Regions from separate parts of the Homo sapiens genome. Here region 1 is linked to region 2. The links are contacts of gene promoters, found by promoter capture Hi-C in blood cells and fetal thymus (Javierre and others, 2016). All regions are on one chromosome and are shown on one strand. Each heading gives the region's core, a stretch centred on a gene start or on the middle of the fragment in contact. The rest is flanking DNA. Distances are from core to core; before and after follow the strand shown.

Evidence for each region. The method cuts DNA at HindIII sites, captures the fragments that hold promoters and counts their contacts. A CHiCAGO score of 5 or more calls a contact.
Region 1: the fragment with the promoter of PPP1R3F here is called in contact with the fragment with the promoter of SYP-AS1 in region 2 in 9 of 17 cell types (fetal thymus, neutrophils, naive CD8 T cells and 6 more); the score reaches 11.3 in fetal thymus.

What each region holds. Positions count from the first base shown.
Region 1 is chrX:49,267,047-49,274,475 of GRCh38, forward strand. PPP1R3F (protein phosphatase 1 regulatory subunit 3F) reads left to right here and starts at 2,747. Exons shown (of 4, transcript NM_033215.5): 1 at 2,747-3,827. The coding sequence starts at 2,824. RefSeq lists enhancers at 1,836-2,335, 2,033-2,082 and a silencer at 2,783-3,022. The HindIII fragment of the contact is 7,823 bases long and covers 1-6,860 here.
Region 2 is chrX:49,195,300-49,201,651 of GRCh38, forward strand. It overlaps SYP-AS1 (SYP antisense RNA 1), which reads left to right and starts at 3,540. Exons shown (of 2, transcript NR_046649.1): 1 at 3,540-3,925. It overlaps SYP (synaptophysin), which reads right to left and starts at 4,894. Exons shown (of 7, transcript NM_003179.3): 1 at 4,852-4,894; 2 at 3,669-3,734; 3 at 2,416-2,540. The coding sequence starts at 4,887. RefSeq lists silencers at 4,727-4,776, 4,847-5,086. The HindIII fragment of the contact is 12,908 bases long and covers 1-6,352 here.

The DNA of each region.
Region 1 (7,429 bases), core at 1,497-3,996, 71 kb after region 2:
AAGGGGGCTAGTTTTCTCTCTCAGGATCAGAGGTGTGGGCTGCATTCTCCTTATACCTTCCCCAGACCATCTGTCCCTTACTGTCACTCACTCCATGAAAGAGAGTGGCCAGAGATATAGGAGGCAAACGAAGTGAGGATGGTGGCCGAGAATGTGAGCTGGCCCCTTGGGCAGGCCCAGGGTGTGAGAGGGAAATGCTACGGCTGCTGAAAGCCAAGATCCTTGCAGAATGGGGGCTGGGGTCAGGAGGGCAGAGAGGGGTAGAGGTCGCTACCTCCCCTCTATACTGGACTATATCCTCTCTCATGGAGGGCTTCTCGGGAAGGAGACTGGGAGGGCTGGGAGTTGGGGGTGAGTAGGCAAGATTAAACGGGTCAGGAAAAGTCCCCAGAGACAGGGGCCTCTGACAAAGACTTGAAGGAGATGAGGGAGGGAGCCAGCTAGATATCTGAGGAACTCCAAAGGAAACAGCCAGGGCAAAGGTCCTGAGGTGGGAATGTACCTGATTTGTTCAAGGTCTACAAGGGGGCTGGTGTGGTTAGTGTGGAGAGAGCAAGAAGAGAAGCTGGAGGTGAGGTCAGAAAGGGGACTCGGAGGTTAGACCACGCAGGACCTTGTAGGCCATGGTAAGGACTTTGGCTTCAACGCTGAGTGAGGAGGAAGGCATGACAGGGTTGCAAGCAGAGGAGAAACACAAACCGTGTTAGGATTTAACAGGAAGCCCCTGAATGCTGAGTGTACAATGGGGTCTAGGGCCTGAATGTGGAAGCAGGGGACCAGCAAGGAGCTGGCTACTGCAGTAGTCTAGGTGACTGGTGATAGTGCTGGCAGTGGAGGTGGTGAGAAGAGGATGGATTTGGTAAATATTTTTAATAGACAGCCAAAAGGATTTGTTGAAGACTGAGAGTCTTGGAGCCAGATCGGGACAGACAATGCCCAAACCAGGTGGGCAGGAAGGAGTCCCTGGACTATTTGCCAGCTTGAACTTTTAGGTGAGAAAAAAATAAAGTTCTGTCTTGCTTAAGCCCCCATTATTTTATGATTTTTCTGTTACTTGCAGCTGAACATATTCATTTCTAACTCATGGACATCCTGAACATGGAGACCTGGGGAGAGGGGCTGCTGGAAGGATCACCTCCCTCCTAGGATGCTGTGAGGTTCTAATGAGATAACAGCATGCTCAGAACCTGGCACTCAGTAGGTGTTCAGTAAATCTTCCCAGGATGGAGAAGGAATGTATGAATGGATGTGTTCAGCGGACAAAAGCTGCAGTTGAGTTCCCACAGAAGGTGAGACCCCAAAGGGAGAGCGAAAGGAGTTTACTAGATGGAAGCAGCAGAAGGAACAGCACTCTTGGGAGAGGGAACAGTAGAAGCAGAGATGGGGGGACAGAAAGAAGGGAGGTGAGGCCCCTGTGGGGTGTGGAGTGTCAGGTTGGGCAAGAAGGACAGGGCTTTGATTGTGATTCCATTAGTCAGAAGCTACCCATATGCCCAATCAACTTCTGGTAGCACACAGTCAGGTCAGTGTTTGCTGAGCTGAAATTTAAAAAAGTGAATCCTTCAGAAAGTTAAATTTCCTATTCGGCCATTCATTCAACAATAGTATCAAGTCCTGGAGAGTGCTTGCGGCTAACAATCAGGGGCATTCTTGGCTTGTGGCACTGCTCAAGAAAAGGTTGTAGTTGGGCAGGGAGGACCCAGTAAGTAACTAACTGCAACAGGACAGTCATTTTCACTTTCCTAGTTCACACACCAAGGTGTGGTCTAGGCCTTCAGGGGCTCTGGGTATTCCTGGGGCAATGGGGAGTCACGGAGGGTTAGGGAGAGGGTAACCCCATCCCTGAGAAGCACATTTTTCCTAATGGCTGCCTGCGTTCTATGGTTCTGCTGTCCGGCCACCCAATACCTCAGACTCTGTCTACACAGCGTCCTCCTCTCCAGCCTCCTTATTGGCTACTCATGCCTCCCTTCACACCACCTACACTGCCCCCGTCGGCTCTGCTTTTTTCCCCATCTTGCCTCCAAGTCCTCCCTCCGTCCCGCTGCACTATCTAGCCTCGGCATTGGCTCATCCCATACTAGTACTGTCCTTTGAGGTCTCTACGCCTTCACCCTGGCTCCCTCATTGGCTATCCGCCAGCTCTCGTCCTCGCTCCCGCCTTCAGCCTCCACCTCCATTGGCTCGGCTCCCTACACACCCGCCTCTTGGTCTCCTTTTAGCCTTCGTATTGGCTAGCTCCACCTTGGCACCACCCCTTCGAAGCCGCAGTGCACGCTCACAAGCCTCCCCATTGGCTCGCTGCAGCCATTGTCGTCATCCCACGCGTGGCTCTCCATTGGCTGTTCTCTCTCTCTAGCTACCGTTCCACCGCCTACGCAACCCGCGGGATCTCCCACTTTTTGGGCCTCTGCGTTCGTTCCCGGCTGCCCTCATCGCCTGTAGCCATTCCACTTTTCCCACCGCCCACATGCCTCTCTCGCTCAGACTTCCGCATTAGCTGTCTGCTTCTGTTTTCTTCATCATGGATTTCGCACCACCCCCATTCCGGCCTCTCCATTGATTCCTCGATCATCCCGCCCCCTACACCGCCCACTCCCGGGCATCCCCATTGGCTGCGTGCTTCTCCGGCTCTCAATTCGCTGTACGTCATCCGTGCATGGCTGCCCATTGGCCCTCTGCAATACTTGTCTTCATCTCACCGCCTATGCCCCCGTGAGCCGTACCCCTCCGCGCTGGCCTTCCCATTGGCTGCCCGCCCCTTCAGGCCCTGCCCCCGCCGGTCCCGCCGCCGGTGCCGTCGGTGCCGCCGCCGCCGCCGATATGGCGCGTACGGCCCCTGTGGAGCCCCCGCTGCGGCATTCCGCGCCCCCCTCGCCGGCCGCGGGTGAGCCCCGCACCTCGGTCGAGGCGGCGGTGGCCCCGCGGAGGGTGCTGTTCGCCGACGAGGCCTTGGGGCTGCCGCTGGCGCAGTTGCGCCGCTACCGGCCGTGGGGCGGGCCCGGGGCGGGCAAGATGGCGGCGGCGGCCGGGCAAGATGGCGGCGGCGGCGGCGGGGCCGACGAGGACGACGATGGCGAGGATGGGGATGAAGGGGAGGAGGAAGAGGAGGCTTGCCCCGAGCCCTCACCGCTGTGCCCCGTCCCCGCTGGCGGGGGGTTTTACCTGGTCCCCACATTTTCGCTGCCGCCCGCGCCGGGCCGTCTGGAGCGCTTGGGGCGCGTCATGGTGGAGCTGGAGGCGCTGCTGCCGCCTCCCGGAGCGGTCCCCGGGGGTGCCGGGGTGTGGGTGCCTGGGGGCCGCCCGCCGGTGCTGCGCGGGTTGGTACGCGTGCTGAACCGCTCCTTCGAGAAGGCGGTGCACGTGCGGGCCTCACACGACGGCTGGGCTTCCTTTTGCGACCACCCAGCGCGCTACGTCCCGCGCAGCCCGCCGTGGGCAGGAGCGGGAGGAACAGGAGCAGGAGATCCCATCCTGGATCCGGGGCTCGGCCTGGGTCCCGGCCAGGCATCCGCCTCCTCGCCCGACGACGGCGGCCGCACCGACCGCTTTGCCTTCCAGCTGCCCTTTGCTGAGGGCGCGGGCGATGGGGCGCGCCTCGACTTCGTGGTGCGCTATGAGACCCCTGAGGGCACTTTCTGGGCCAACAACCACGGCCGCAACTACACAGTCCTGCTCCGGATCGCACCCGCTCCCACACCCACTGATGCCGAAGGGCTGCCCCAGCAGCAGCAGCTGCCGCAGCTGGAGCCACAGCCCGAGTGCCAGGGTCCCGTGGAGGCTGAGGCCAGGCAGCTGAAGAGCTGCATGAAGCCGGTGAGGCGCAGGTAATGTCAGCCAGCGCCACCTCCGCCAACGCAGGGCTGTGTCTGGGATGGAGGACAAGCATTCCGGCCCAGGAACCCCTCAGGCCTGCTCTCCAGGACAGGGAGGAGGGTGCATTGAGTCAGTCAGTCAAAGAGTGATGGAGGTCAAACACGTGCTAGGCACTGTTTTAACTGGGGTTTTATTCCTCCATTTATTGAGTTCCACTGTAAAGCCCTGAACAAGACAGACATCTACCCTACCCTCAAGGATTCATACAGGCTCCTATGGGAGACAGTTTGAAAAAACAAGCAAGCAAGCAGATAGGATAAATAGGGACAAAGTTAGCTGCTGAAGGGAGTAAGGGGATAGATTGGGAGGGAATGACTGTGTCAGACATGCTGTTAAAGGGAGGGCCTTTGAGGAGGTGAGTCCCGAATGATGATAAAGAAGAGTTATGCAGATACGGTGGGGAGGTGGGGGAGAGTTTGTAGGAAAAGGAACAGGGAGGACTTTTCTGAGGAGGTTTCATTTAAACTAAGTCCTGGATGATGAATAACAGTTATGTGCATATATGGAACAAGGGTGTTCTAGGTAGAGGAAACAGCAAGTGCAAAGGTCCTGGGGTGGAAATGAGCTTGGTGTGAATGATCAGCAGTGTGCTGGAGTGGAGAGAACTGCAATGACATAGTGTGGACCAAGGGCTTTGCCAGTGGGGGGTAGAGCAGATTCTCTTTCTGACAGAGCAGGAAACCAGGATTCCAGAGGTGGAGAAACTGGTTGAGGCAGTGATGGCACCTGGCTCTTCCAGTTCACCCATGCCTGACCTTGAAGCCTGTGCACTCTACTGTTAACGCTGTAATCTACTTTTGAGTCCTGTGGAGGCGAGGGGCTGAGCCCATGCTCTCACAAGAAAGCAGTGGCTCTAGCAGAGAGACAGAACCAGATGGGTACTGGACTTGAAGTTTTTGTCCCTTGTTTTTTTGCCACACCACCTGTGATCATTTAGGGACAGGGAGAAATAATCAGTTATACCCCAGGGGGCCCCAGAAGATTTCCCTAGGTTTCCTCTATCAAGCTATGAGTTCTTTAAGGGCAGCAGCTAGTCCTGATTCTTTTTGCGGTCACCTAAGTCTGGCCCAGGATCACTAGATTCTCCCTAAAATGTATACATTTCCCTGTTCCTGGGAGGACTGGGAATGGAAATGGGAAAATGCTTTTTGGACCTTGTATGTATACGCTTGGTCAGAAGCCCCTGGCTGCAGTAAGACATTTGTGGGTTCTGCTGGTTCTGGTAAGGCCTTAGGCTGTGAGTGGTTCAGAAAGGTCTAGCTCCGGTCTGGTGGGCAGATGTGCCTGGGTAACTGAGCAGGCAGGCAGGTACCCACTCACCCACCTGTGAGCCCCACCATAATCTGAGACTTCATTTAAAGGGGGCAGGCAGCATGGTTTTTCTTACAGCATTAAGAGTGTGGATTCTGGCATAGATTGCCTGGGTTCAAATCCTGGCGCTGCCACTTACTGGCCTTGTGACCTTGGCCAACGCATTTAACTACACCATGCCTCAGGACCCTCACCTGTAAAACAGAATTATAGCATCTACTTTACGGGATAAGAGTAAAGGTGCTCAGAACCGAGTCTGGCTCAAAGTAGTATCATACAGGTGTTAGCTAGTGTCAGTATTTAGGGAGCCACACCTACAGTTTCCTGGATTCCTCTCCTAAATTCGGCTCCGCCCATCAGCTGTGTGGCCTTGCCTCCGTTTCCTTCTCTGCTAAGGGAAATGACAGTCACTTTGCATGGTTGGATTGAATGCAGCAAACATGGGCAAGGTAACTGAAGCATGGTGGTAACTGCAAAAGATAACTGGCCAGCATTTACTGATTTCTGTGCTATGAACATCAGATCCATTCTCTCCGTGAGGCCTGCTGTGCATGCTGTGTTGTGTAGGTGCTATGATTATCCCCATTTAGTAGAGGGGAGACAGGTAGCTCAGAGAGATGAGCCAGCTTGCTCAAAGCCTCTCAGCTAGTGAGTGACAGGGCCAGGGAAGAAATGCTAGGGACATTTATTTTTTTCTATTTTTTTTTTTTAAACTGGTCCTCTAGAAAGCGTGGCATGATTCAGGGCAAATTCTGGATTTCACTCTTGGTGTTCCCAGCATGTCGTGCTTTCCTTTTACCTTTTTTTTTTTTTTTGCTTTATCGAGGTATACCTACATAAAGTGTACTGATATTCTGTGTATAGCCCAGTGGATTTGTACATATGTATGCACTTGTGTAGCCACCACCCAGATGAAGATACTGAGCAGGTCCAGTACCCCAGAGCTACCTTCATTTCTATCACTTTCCCAAGCTGTCATCCCCGCCGGCTGTCATGGGAACCCTGTCTGTAAGATGCGACAGTTTGGGTAAAGGAGTTTGGTCATTTTAAAGAGTGTGAAAGGCAGAGAACAGAGAAATCAAAACCTTGCAGGGCCAAGGTGGGTGGAGAGGGTGTTTTTCTTTTAACATACATGGGCGGTTTTAAGGAGAAATTGAAGCAGCCTGTTCAGACAATTGTTTTGGTATCTGGCCCCAGGTCTGTGGTTCCTAACATGACTTGTGATATTATTTTAAGTGGGCAGATGGCTTTTTGATAGCTTCTTTATCTTTCGATCTCAGCTCTTGCAAAGGGGAGGTTGGTGCTCATTGCAAGATCAGCGATAAGGGTTTCTTTGTAGGTCGGTGGCTTTCTTGGTGAGTACATTTCAACATATTATTGTTTTAGAACCTGTGTGCTGCCAGTGACTTGCAGCACTGTTGAAGACTAGCCACCCTTTGTGACCTAGCCCTCTTGGGAAATGGCGGAGGATCTCAGGGTATATCCCTTACCTGTGGGAGCCCTATCAGAGGGCTTCCTGTTGAGGAAATGTTGGCTGTAGGCCCTCTGTGCACTGAGCACAGCCACATCAGGTGAGGGCATGGGAGAAGTCCGTGGTAGCCATCAGGATAGAGTTCAGAAACCCAAATGGCTGCTTTCCCTGGGTTGCTGGACCAGGCATTTGGTAACTCTAAAGCTTAGAGATGATTCATCGACAAGCATTTATTGACTGCCTACTGTGTGCTGGGCACAGTGCTAGGTTCCAGCAGGGAAAGAGATGCAGAGTGGTCCTAAGATGTCACAGGGCTTGTGGGATGGAGTACAGAGGATTTGTTGTATGAGACCTGGCTGAGCCCCTGCTCTTCGCCAGGCACTTCACTGAGTACTATATTTTCATGCAAGGTCTGGTTTAATTCCGACAACATTCCCTGTGAAGTAGAGGGTTTTAAATTTCTCTTTCCTGGATGAGCAAACTGAGGCTCCCAGAGTCCAAAGTCCTAGGGCTGGTGTGGGGAAAAGCCCTCCTGATCTTCCTTGGCACTTGACACTACCCTTTGGAAGTGTCCTATTCTTCTTAAAAGTAAAGACCAAGAGAGCCTCACCATGGTCTTCAAGCACCCTCCCATCCCATTCCCCAATCTGGCCTCCACTGGCTCATAGTCTTAACACCAGTGGTCTTTCTGAGCTCCTGTCACCATGGTCTTTCTGTTACTCCAAAGGGCCTCGCTCCTTTCTGCTGCAGGGCCTTTGCCCCTGCTGTTTC
Region 2 (6,352 bases), core at 2,290-4,789:
TGTTTATCAAATGAAATGTACAGAGGCGGAAACAGAGGCTCAGGGAAGTGCATTAACTTGCCTAAAGTCACACAGCTGGCAAGGGAATGTCAGAGTTGAGATCTGAACCTTGTTTTCTCCCTATCTCATGTTGACTTTTCTCCCCCACCCCAGTTCAGGTCCCCGAGAGAAAAAAATGTATGCATAGCAGAGGAGAGGCCAGCGACTAGATAACAGGAAAAGACAGACAGAAAGAAAGGAGGGTAAAGGGATCTTGGAACAGGGTGTGTGTATGTGAGGGAAGAGGGGAGGTGTCCTGGGACTAAGGCCTTTCCTGTGGTGTGATGGAGGAGAGGTGGGGGTTGTAGAGAGAAAATGTCTGTGGGAGAAGTTCTGGAGCACAGTCTCAGATTGGAGGCCAGGATCCTGAGACTGAGCAAATGGTGCCAATGCCTTTGTGTAGCAAAGGCCCTGAGGGAAGAGGCTTGCACTTATTAGTCACCTACTAAGCAGTTTACATAAATGTCTCATTAATGACAGCCTCCAGCAATTCTCTAAAGAAGGCATTATTAGACCCTTTTTACAGATGAATAAACAGAGGCTTAGCAAGGTTATTACTTGCCCAAGGTTGTACAGCTCCTAAATGATGGAGCTAGGAGTTGCATCTGGGTTTGAGTTTCTGTTTCTAGTGGGCTGGGTCAGGAGAGGGGGTCCCTAAGAGGGAATGAGAGGTCCTTGGGTATTAGGGCAGTTTGGGAGGGATTTTGCTCAGGGGGACCCAGGGCCAAGACTGTTTTTCTAGGGGACTTGTGGGCTAGAGCCTTAGGACCCAAAGTTCTAGACATGGGAGGCGTGGGGAGGGGGCACAGGGGATGGTTGTGGTCTTGTGGATCCCCAAAGGACTGGCTCTAAGCAGTGTCCCTTGCTGCCAGCTCCCCCTCCTTCCCCAGACTCTTTTCTCCCTTGCCTTTGTGGACCCATGGATACCTGGCTGCCCCTCTGCCTCTCAGGCCACACTTTCCCGGCATCTCCTCTCTTTTCCATCATTGCTCAGGGCCTGTGCTAGGTTTTCTTCTACTTTCACTCTTCCATCTCCCCACTGGGTGATCACTTGAGCCTACATTTACCCTCAGTACTCGAAGACCCCCAGTTTCCAACTCAACCCCTGTCCTCTTTCCTGAGTCCCTTAAATTTATTTTACTTATTGAACAGACACTGATGGAGCACTTATTGTGTGCCAGGCACTGTGCTAAGCACCTGATGAATATTAACTCATTGAATGCTAACCACGACCCTGTGAGGTAGATATTATTAGTATTCCTTTTTACAGATGAGGAAATTGAGACCCAGAGTGGTTATGTGATTTGGCCAAATAGTGGGGGAGTCTCAGAAACCTGTGCGGGGATTGTGTCTGTGGGTCTCTGTCATCCCACCCTGCAGGAGGTAAACATCATTGTGAGGGTAGTGCCCATGCCAGCCGTGCTCATTCTTGTGCACCTAGCACCCAGTGTATTGCCCGGCACACAGTGTGAGCTCAATAAATGTCAGAATTGTTTAATTGGGTTTAATTTTTCCCTATATCTAAGCAGCACCCCTCATTATTCTATTCTCTACCATAAAACCCTACATGAGGATCTCCTCGAGTTTCTCTCAGTCTGCTATTATCCTCTTTGTTAATTTATTTGTTATAATGTAGGCTCCATGAAGGTAGGGAGTTGGGTCTGGTTTTTTTTTTTTTGGAGATGGAGTTTCGCTCTTGTTGCCCAGGCTGGAGTGCAATGGCGCGATTTCGGCTCCCAGGTTCAAGTGATTCTCCTGCCTCAGCCTCCTGAGTAGCCGGGATTACAGGCATGCATGACCACGCCTGGCTAATTTTGTATTTTTAGTAGAGACGGGGTTTCTCCATGTTGGTCAGGCTGGTCTCGAACTCCTGACCTCAGGTGATCCGCCCACCTCGGCCTCTCAAAGTGCTGGGATTACAGGCGTGAGCCACTGTGCCTGGCGGGAGTTGGGTCTGTTTTAGTTACTATCATGCTTCCAGCACTTTGAGTAGTACCAGATATAAAATAAGTTCTCAAAAATGTGTATAGAATGAATGAATGGGGATTAAATAATAATATTGGCTAACATTAATTGGGTACCTACTGGGTTAAGGTATGTATATACACCTGTCTTACTTTTGTATCTTGTTTATTGCCTGTCCCTTACCCCTTCGCTGGAACAGAGCCAGAGGGCCACAGCCTATGTCTGCCTTGCTCACCACATAGTCCTAGAGTCCAGAGCAGTGCCAGGTACAAGGCAGGTGCTCAGTGATCCCAGTGGATGTAGCCTCGAGGTGGGAGCTGGGCAGGAGCTACTTGCGGGGGGAGGTATTGGCCGGTTCCACCCTGCCCCTTCCTCTCCCAGGTCTGTTGGTATCCCAGGGTGGGAGCACACCTGAAGGGGTACTCGAACTCGACCTCGATGCTGAGGTCACTCTCGGTCTTGTTGGCACAATCCACGCTCAGCTGGAGCTCCCCACTGTAGCTGCCGCATGTGGCAAAGGCGAAGATGGCGAAGACCTTGGGCAGCAGGGATGGGGATGGCCACAGTGAACCTGTGTGCATGTGGGAGGGAGGTGCCCTCCTCTGGACAGATCGGGGGCCCAGCACAGGCAGCAGCAGATGGAGCAGTCCCCACCCCCACCCCCTAATCAGGGCTCATCGGGACCAAGGACAAGCTGATTACAAGGGTATGGCTGTCTCTTCCTGTTTCTCTCTCTGTGTCTCTCTCTGTCTCTGCCTTTCCATGCTGACCTCCCTCTTCTCTGTTTGTCTCTGTTGTTCTCTGTGTATCTCACTGTGTCTCTGTTTCTCTCGGTATCTCTGTTTCTCTATGTGTCTTTGTCTTTCTCAGATGTCTCTTTGTCTCTCTGTGTCTCTGATCCTCTCTGCCTCTGCCTATCTGATCTGTCGATGTCTCTTTTTGTCTCTTTTTTCTCTGTCTGTGTAAGTGTATGCCTGTATGTCTGTGTCTTTCTGTTTCTTGGTCTGTTTGTCTCTGTCTCTCTGTCCTGTCTCTCACTCGGTCTCCGGATGGTTCTCTCTCTGTCTCCCTCTTGCCTCTGTGTGTTGGTTTCTCTTTTTTCTGAGTGTCTCTTTCTCTCTGTGTCTCTCTCTCCCTCACCCTGTTTTCCTGCCTCTCTCCCTGCGTCTGTTTCTCTTTGCATCTGTTTTCTGTGTCTCCTTTTTCTTTGTTTCTGTTTGTCTCTTCTCTCTTATGTCTGTATCTCTTCTCATCTCCATATTTCTTTTTTTTTTCTCAGTATTTCCATCTCTGTCTTTATCATTCCCTGTCCCTCATTCTCTCTGTCACCTTCACTGTCTCTGGGTTTCTCTGACTTTGCATCTCTCACCCAGCATCTGCTACAGGCTCCACCTCCCCCACCCCTCCCTCACTTCAAGAGAGGAGGTAGGACGTCACAGTCTCCCACTTCACAACGGGGGTACCCTCAGCCCTATGTGACGTCACAGCTCATCTGTTTTCTGGCTTCAGACCCCTGAAACCTCACCCTGGAGCCCAATTCCCCCATCCCCTACAACCCCCGCACTCATCCCTGGCTACTCGCCCCTACTCCACCCCTGCTCTTCTGGACCCCATGACCTCCCTCTCTCCCTGCACTCTGCCCCAACAGCCCGGACCACACTCACCCATTGCAGCACCTTCACAAAGCCGAGGGGCTCCTTGACCACCCGGAACTGACCCCCAGCCACCAGCTGAGGAGAGAAACAGTGGGGAAGGGGTGGGGTTGTTGGAGGTACAGGGAGGTGAGCGGCAAGGCTGCCCATCAATGACCCCAGGGGATGGAGCATGTGACCTCGGGGAGAGGGTGAGAAGGAGAAAGTGACACCTTGGGGATGGTGTGAGCCCCAGGGTCCAAGGACTGGTGGGAAGGTCTGAAGAGATGGTGAGTCAGATGGCAGAGGAAGTCGGGGGTGAGGGAGATGGGGATGAGGTCAGGACTAGTTAAGGAGGGGGAGCAGGTTTGAAACGTAAAGGCGAGTCGGATGGGGAAGGGGTTCGGGTAGAGAATGGGGATGGAGTGGGGTGCATTCGGGTGGGGGGGTTGTGATGGTGAAGGTGAGTCATAACGGGGCAGGAGTCGGTTTGGCTCAGGTGGGGGAAGGGTCTGCAGGGGTAAAGGTGTGTTAGACGGCGGTGGCGGTAGATATTTGAGGTGATGGGGATGGGGAAGGGTTGGGACTGATTGGGGGTGAGTTTCTGAGGTGGCAAAGACGAGAGACATGGCGGAGAGGGTCTGGACTGATTAAGGTGGGGGAGGGCTGGGACACGGCTTCAGTCGCTATGTGTTGGGGGTGAGGAGGCTGGGGGTTTTGGAAGGAGTAAAACCGGATTGTCCCCTAGGTGTGCTCTGGGGGAAGGGGTGGTCGCCTATGGGGGTACAGTCTCTGTTTGGGAGGGGCGGGTGCCAGCCCTCTCCCCCATCCCCGCCCCCACACCTTCTGTCGCTCTATTTCCTAGCTTATCCGCAGCACCCCCCATCTTCCTTCCACTCTCCCCTCCCCTTGTCCCTTGCCCTCACTCCAGCCCCCAGGCCCCTATTCCTCCCCTCGCGGTCGCCAGTAATAAACGGGGCTCCGGGGGCCCCCGCTGCGGCAGTGAGGACGGCCCTCGCTGCGGCAAAGAGCGCACTCCTTTTCTCCACCTCCCCCTTCCTCCCCTTCACCTGCCGCAGACCCCCATCCCCAGCGCCGGGGACCGGGTCTCCGCTGCCAGACCCTGGCCACCACCTCCCAGAGTCGGCTGGCCTGAGCGACCCGGCCTAGGCAGCCGGGCGGCGGCGGGCTCTGTCCACGGTGCTGGAGCGCGTACCTGATTCACCACGTCCATGTCCGCCAGCAGCAGCATCAGCAATGCAGGGGGCGGGAGGCTCGGCTAGCAAGGGCGGCGCGGGGCGCGGCGGGGGCGGCGCGCGCTCGTTGGAACAGCCCAGGCGGCTGCAGCCCCGCCCCTCGCGCCCCCTCCTTGCCCGCCACGCGCCTGCGCACAGCGGGTTGTACCACAGTCTCACCGGCAGCCATTCCGGCCCGGAGGCTGGAGCCGTGAGAGCGTGCGGGAATATGCGTTGGGAAAACACAAGTCGAGGGCCGGGGAGAGGAGACCTCCCTGCTCGGTCCTACAGTGTGACAACTTTGCCAGGCTCTTTTCTGAGTTTGTTAAACATGTTCACTCATTTAATGCTTACAGAAGTCCTACGTTGTAGGGACTATTAGGCCGTTTTTACAGACGAGGAAAATAATTCCCCAGAGAGCTTAAGTGACTCTCACAAGGTCAGCCAGCTACTAGCTGGCAGTGCCCAGAGTCCCTGCAGTTTAAACACGGTTCAAGGCCTTCCAGGTTCCTTTTTCATAGTCTGCATTTTAAGCACACCCTGAAACTCCTGCCCCCATCTAGCCATCTCCCTTATTTCTTTCTTCCTCTTTGTCAAATTAATGCCTACTCGAACTCTACCACTTTACCTATTTATTCCTTAGCTCTCTCTTAATTGGAATAACCCTCCTTCCTGCGACTAAAACTAGGCCCATCAAGGTCAACAGTGATGGCTATGATGCAAAATCCAAAATACAGTTGGGGCTTAAGATGCTCAACTTCGGCCAGGCGCAGTGGCTCATGCCTGTAATCCCAGCACTTTGGGAGGCCGAAGTGGACAGTGGATCACTTGAAGTCAGGAGTTTGAGACTAGCCTGGCCAACATAGTGAAACCCCATCTCTATTAAAAATACAAAAATTAGCTGGCTGTGGTGGCAGGCGCCTGTAATCCCAGCCACTTGGGAGGCTGAGGCAGGAGAATTGCTTGAACCCAGGAGGCGGAGGTTGCACTGAGGCGAGATTGCACCACTGCACTCCAGCCTGGGCAACAGAGCGAGACTCCATCTCAAAAACAAACAAGCAAACAAAAATACTGAGATACTGTTTTTCATCTTTCAGGGTGGTGAGTATCAAAAAGTTTGATAACGTTCCGTATTGGTAGGTTGGCCAGAAACAAGCGTTCTCATAAATCGCCTGTGGAAGTTTCATTGGTATAACGTGTAGAAGGCAATCGGGCAAAATCTAAAAAAAAAAAATAACAAATTCATTTACTGTTTGGTTCACCTTCATACTTCTAGGAATTCATCTTACAGATAGACTCATACATGTGCTAAAAGATATATGTATAAGATAATACATGACTGGGCTGTTTATTTTTTATTTTTTTTTGAGACGGAGTCTCACTCTGTTGCCCAGGCTGGAGTGCAGTGGCATGATCTCCGCTTACTGCAACCTCCGCCTCCCGGGTTCAAGCAATTCTCCCTGCCTCACCCTCCCTGAGTAG